2 separate regions of the Homo sapiens genome follow, and region 1 is linked to region 2. The links are contacts of gene promoters, found by promoter capture Hi-C in human tissues and cell types (Jung and others, 2019). All regions are on one chromosome and are shown on one strand. The core of a region is centred on a gene start or on the middle of the fragment in contact, and the rest is flanking DNA. Distances in the headings are between cores, read along the strand shown. Region 1 overlaps LOC105376809 (a long non-coding RNA gene). Region 2 holds the start of IGSF21 (immunoglobin superfamily member 21).

What was found. The method cuts DNA at HindIII sites, captures the fragments that hold promoters and counts their contacts. A contact is called where the count stands out against the background at its distance.
Region 1: a fragment that was not itself captured here is called in contact with the fragment with the promoter of IGSF21 in region 2 in 2 of the 25 tissues and cell types used here (neural progenitor cells and psoas muscle).

What each region holds. Positions count from the first base shown.
Region 1 is chr1:18,005,704-18,008,820 of GRCh38, reverse strand. All of the region lies in intron 2 of LOC105376809 (a long non-coding RNA gene), which reads left to right. Among named protein-coding and RNA genes, the nearest start is that of LINC01654, 58 kb to the left of the region's middle. The HindIII fragment of the contact is 6,544 bases long and covers 1-3,117 here.
Region 2 is chr1:18,106,294-18,109,358 of GRCh38, reverse strand. It overlaps IGSF21 (immunoglobin superfamily member 21), which reads right to left and starts at 1,561. Exons shown (of 10, transcript NM_032880.5): 1 at 1,161-1,561. The coding sequence starts at 1,230. The HindIII fragment of the contact is 17,740 bases long and covers 1-3,065 here.

The DNA of each region.
Region 1 (3,117 bases), core at 431-2,930, 100 kb after region 2:
GGTAGTGTATGCTGGTAGCTTTGGGAATACTACAGGTGCGCCACCATGCTCAGCTAATTTTTGTATTTTTTTGTAGAGACGGGGTTTCACCATGTCGCCCAGGCTGGTCTCGAACTCCTGGGCTCAAGTGATCTGCCCACTTTGGCCTCCCAAAGTGCTGGAATTACAGGCCTGAGCCACTGTGCCCGGCCAACTAGTGACTCAAACTGTGCACTGAGAAGCCCGGGACCTCTGTGGGTGATCGTGGAAGTGAGAGAGGAGGTGAGTGGGGAGCACTCTTACCTGGTGTAATATCAGAGACCCATCTAAGGTTTTATCCAAAGGAAAAGGTCCACGGGCTTCCTGTCCTCCGTGGTTTTTAAAAAATGGTTTGAAAATGCCTGACATGGTCCATGTTCCCCTGCTGCAGTTATTTAACTGAGGCTCAGAGAAAAGAGCAACATTTCAGAGCCAGTATATTTTCAGCTCCCAACAGGACATAGGAGCATCTGTCACAGCTTGGCATCTTGCAGGGCCTGAGGCTGGGAAAAGCCTTTGCTGGGAGAAGCTGTAGTCCATGGGAATGTAGAAATGGGAGGCCCTGGGGACCTGCAGGGAGACAGCTGAGCCCTGAGGGCCCCCCAGAGACCCAAATGAAAGTAGGAAGATCAGATCCATTTCCATGGGTTCTGGCCAATGGCAAGTCCCAGCCAGAGAGTCCTAGGGCAAAACCCCACATCCCTGGGGTTGTGGGTTGCAGGAAAGCATGTTGGCTCAGGAATCTCAGTCTGGAAACTCTGGTGGAACTCAACACCCTGACAGGGGAGCTGGGGGGCCTCCCAGGGGTAATTAGTGGGACTGTTGTGTTACCGATGCGTCTACAGATGGCCAGGTCCTGCTCTCCAGAGCCTGCCGTCGCTCTCTGGCAGGTTCAACTTGTCCTGGCTCTGTGCTCACTGCATGGCTGTGGTCCACCCATCAGACAGCTGCCGGCACATCTGGGACAGCTGCAACGGGCCAACGCTGGCACCTCCACTGTGCAGAATTATTCCATCCTCCCTACGAGCCTGGGTGTTGAGGAAGGACATTGTGGTTTAGAGAGGGTAGAGGACTCTCCATGGAGGACAGGAAGCCCGTGACAGAGCCAGGTTTATAAGCAGATTTCCCAGCTCCCCTCTGAGTGCTCAAATCCTCTCCCAATGCTGCCCTCCTCGTCACAGCCCATGAGCATGTCTCACATGAGACATCTTCCAGCGGCGCCCCTTGAGTCTGGGAGAGCACCGTGGAAGGTTTGTGCTGCCACCCTGCTGTCCCGGACACTCACTCCCTACCAGCCTTTCCCAGAGATGTTCCATTGGATATTCATGGGAAGGATGGCTTGCTAGTCTATAAGTCCAGAAAACCTTGAATTAAAACAAAGTAAACATGCTGTTCTTTTTTTTTCTTTTCCTTTCTTTCTCTTTCCTTCTTCTTTCCTTCTCTCTCTTTCCTTCCTTCTCATTCTCTTTCTTTTCTTTCTCTCTTTCTTTCTTTTTCTTTCATTCTTTCTTTCTCTTTCCTTTGTTTTTTTCTCCCTCTTTCTTTCCTTCTTTCTCTTTCTTTTCTCTCTTTCCTTCCTTCCTTCTTTCTTTCCTCTCAGATCCTTCACTATAATCATGTCTTGTGAATCCCCAAGAAACAGATAGGGGTTGCAGCATTTCCCATTCTCAGTGAGTCACTTTATCTGTGAGGCTGGACTCAGTTATTCTGCAGTAACAATAATCTCCAAAATGTTCCTGACTTATAACAACCAAGGTGTGTTTCTTGCTCACGATCTATGTCCCCTACAGAGTGACAGAGGAGTTTGCTCCTTGTAGCCACTCACAACCCCTTTCCAGCAGGTGCTTCCCAGCAGGGGGAAACTCAGTCAGGATTCCTGAAAGTCTCCCATGAGACACCCTGGTCAGAAAGTGATGCACGGGACTGTCACCTTGCAGACGTTGGCCAGAACTGGTCACATGGCTTTGCTCGGGGACAAAGGGGCCAGCCAGTGCACTGCTACCATGCGCCCCGGAAGCACACAGCTAGGAAATGTGGGGGAGCACCATGCCCAGGGGCTTGCTGGTCTGCAGAACAGGCACTGACATTCCCCAGGCCCTGTGGCTCTGCAGAGCCCAACTGGGGAAGGAGGCTCCAGGCCACGGCAGCGGGAGAACTCTTGGATTTCTGGAGTTCTTTCCCCCACTCTTTCTGCCGACATCCCAAGAGTAGCAGTTGCCCATGTCCTTCCTTCTTCTGTTCCCCCCTCAGCCTCCCTTGCCCTTGTCATTTTCCATTAGACCTGGCTAAGTCCACTCAAGGGCCCCCTTCTGAGAAGGAATCTCACCATAGACATCTCAGTTATTGCCTGACAACCAAGGGGACTGTAATTACCAGGAACACATGTTGGGATGCGAACCTCTCACTTTCCTACAATGAACAGTCCCCACACACTCCTGCCTGAGGTGTCAATTTAGCCCACCCAAGTCAGAGGGGAGTTGCAGAAAGGATCAGAGTTAGAAGATAGAGCCCATGGTCAATGTCACCCTCTGCCTACAGCTCAGCTCAACCCAGCCCCACTGAAGCCCATGCTCAGTGGAGCCCACAGAGACCAGGCTGGTGAGGGGCAGTGGTGCCCAGTAGTGAAGGTCACGAGCACTGGATCCAACAAACTAGCATGTGGCCTTGAGCAGAACAGGGAGCCTCTCTGATCCCCAGTCTCTTCATCTAAACATACAGATGTTAGCAAGATTGAATCAGGTAGTACCGGACGCATTGATCATGACTGGATCATACTGAATGTTGTTGTGGAATGGTTGCTGTTGTCATCACCAGAAGGAAAGAAGGACAGGTGTATAATGGGACCTCAAGGGCCTGGGCCCAGCCCCGGCTCTGCCTCTAACCTACCATGTGCCACTGGCACTCCGCCTCTCTTGGCCTTGGCTTTACCCAGTGTAAAGCAAGAACATTTCCAATATCTTTAAGAGGGTCTATAAGGCCCTGCAAAACTCCAGCACCTGCGAGTTTTTCAGCCTCATGTTGCACCCTCTCCCTGGCCTTCTCTCCATTCCAATCAGGACAGAATTTTTCTTCCAATAGCTCAGATCTTATGTCAGTCAG
Region 2 (3,065 bases), core at 312-2,811:
CGCTCCCCTCCGAGGCGGAGCCAGGCTCTGACTCCAGCCAGGCTGAGGTTGGCACCAGGCTCCGAGGAGGATCCCGGACGCGGAGCCTGTAGTCTCGGTGCCTGCGGCTCTTCGCTGGTCCCGCCTCCCTCCCTCCTGGCTTTTAGCCTCACGTTGGCTCTCTGCTCACTGCGCGAAAGGGTTCAGCTCCATTTAAGACCCACTACGCGGCGGCACTGGGTGGGAGGCCGGCCGCGGACCCTGGGGCTGCGGAGCCACCTCTCACTGGCTCCGGAGAACCCGCTCGGCTTCAACCTCCTTCTAGCTGTCTTAGCCTAACCCGGGAGCAAGTCCACACGGCGGGACACACACACACACACACACACACACACACTGAGCTGCTCACAACTCCCCAGCCCCGGAAGCGTCCATACCTCCCTGCACACGATAACCACACGCTCCATGGCACGCATACACACACTCCCAGCCCCATGAAGCCCACGACTCCCAGGCACCTGCACCCCCACCCATCCCACATAAGCAGACTCTTGTCCAGTGTCACAGTCCCATCTCCTGTGCACACAGAAATAGTAATCCGCTGTCGTACACCCCTAGAGACCTGCACACTCGGGACACACGTGAAACGCCAAACCTCACATACCCACCCCCTAACACCTCACACCCACAGTGACACAAGCTCACACACTTCACACCCTCACAGGGAAGGTGGCACATGTTCACACCCTCCCCCCAACATTCGCTCACACTCTCACACACACACCTTCTCCATGTAACTGACACAGACACTCTAACACCCATCCAGACCCTCGCTCACTCACACGCAGACCCCACACCATCACACACACACGCACACACACACTTGCATCTCTAAATACACTCCCGCACCTTCTGCCCACACAGCTCCTTCCCGGACACCCTCACCCAGACACACAACAAAGACACACAATTTACACACACACACACACCCTGGCACAAATCCATGAGCGCTCTCCAAGAGGCGTCCTCCCTCCCTCATCGAGCCAACCAGCTCCACAGACCCCGGGCAGGACCGGTGCTCGTAGCCCGAGCCTCTCGGAGCGACCCCGGCCAGCGCCCTCCCCCGGCACCCCGTCCCCGCGCACGTTCACCGCTCGGCTCCCGCCAGGCGCCCGCGCACTCACCGCGCGCCAGGTCCAGGATCGCGGCGAGCAGCAGGCAGACGCAGCGGCGGAGGCTCGGGGCGGTTCGCATGGTGCCCGGGAGCTGGCGGCGGTGGCGGGGCGGCGGGGGTGGAGGCGGTGGCGGCGGGTCCCCTCGCCATGGGCTCAGACGCGCTCCTGCCTCCGGCCACTGGCCGAGGCGGTGGCGGGCAGCGCGGAGAGCCGCGGGGGCGCCCCCATGCCGCCGCGGCCAGGCAGCCCGGGCGCCCGGCTCGACTCGGCTCCGGCTCTGCGAGGCGCAGCGACCCTCGCGCTCTGGGCGTCCTCGGGGCTCGCCGCGGTTCTCGGCTCCCTAGCTGCGCGCGGTGCCCACCGCGGCCCAGAGTCCGATCGGCTGCAGCGCCGGAGTTTGGAGCCGAATCGCGCTCTCTGCCTCGCGCTCGCCTCTCCCGGCGGCGCGAGCACCCCCCTCCTCTCGCCCTCCCTCCGTCCCTCCCCCTCTCCCCGCCCCCCCGCCCTCCTTGCCCTCCCCTCGCCGCGCTCTCCGCGTATTATACAGACTTTTCTTTAATCCTTTCTGGGCTGTTCGGCTCTCGTCCGCTAAGCCGATTTATTGCAGGGAGAAGGAGAGCTCACCCCCTCCTAACCTCCCCTCTCCCCTCACTCAGGTCCCCCCTCACTCAAAACTGGCTTGCTGCCTCCAGCTTCTTAACCCTTACCCAGGTGACCCAACACCCCGCCCTGGAAGCTATGCTCCATCGGATCCGCCTTTACCTAGCCCCTCCTATCCCCGGGATTACCATCGCCCTCCCCGCTACTCAGCCTGATGAAAGGAGGCAGCCTCCCTCCCGAGAGGGAAAGATGCCATCCTGGGAGCAGGGCAGGCAGGGTGTGGCTCTGGAGTTCTGACCTTGCCAACGATGAATGCCCTCATTGGGCAAGATTAAGGGGTTTCCATGTTCTGAAACTTCCCCAATTACGGCTGCTCCTTCCCCCAGGGACCCACGGAAATGGGGTGTGTTCTGTCTTTTTCCCATGTGCTAGGATCCAGCCAGGAAGGGTGAGGAACTGATTGTTTCCTCCTGGCAGAGACCAAGTTTCCACCTTTTTGCCAGACCTGACAGCTTTTCTTCCCAGGTCCGAGAAGAACAGGTTTGGGACTTGTATGTTACCATTACTCTCCCACCAACACACACGCGAGCACACACACACACACACACACACACACACACACACCATTGAGCCTCAGCCCTGGCGGTGGACTTTGAGGCCTCCTGCGAGGATGAAGGGGAGGGGTACTCTAGCCCTTGGAGTGGACTGGGGATGTGGTTAGATGAGGAAGTTCAGGAGATAGAATTTCACCATTGGTAGGGACCCAGAAGATTGGCAAAGCCCAGAAAAACCAGCACGACCAGGGGCAAAACCTGCTCAGAACTCAGGTGGGTCCCTTTACCCAGGCCTTCTATGGAGAATCTCCAGCTTCCCTAGCTCTGGCAGGTTGCTGAGTCAGGCTGTTGCATCGTTTACCTACATGGGCAATGGGTCTATAGCCAGTTCCATCTCCAGCAGCCCTCTGAGAGGAGTGTAGGGAGTGGGGTGGGCAATGGGTGGTTGCTGGGCTGCCTCTGGGTGAGCTTTGTGCAGAGATGTCCATGAAAGTGAACTGCTCCCTCCTCCTGCCCTCTGGAACCTCACCCCATCGCCTCCCAAGGCAGCTCTGCGGCTCAGCTTGCTCACCCACCCCAGAAGGAGCGATTTGCATTTATGAAGATCTGAAAGCATACGTTCACCTGACAGGCTTTAGAATGATCCTCTCAGTAAAATAATAATAATGATCATAATAAACCCTTATAAATAGGTGTTTGATTACAGTTTGTCCCTAAGTGGGATTTTTTTTTTTTTTTTTTTTTTTTTTTTTTGTGAATC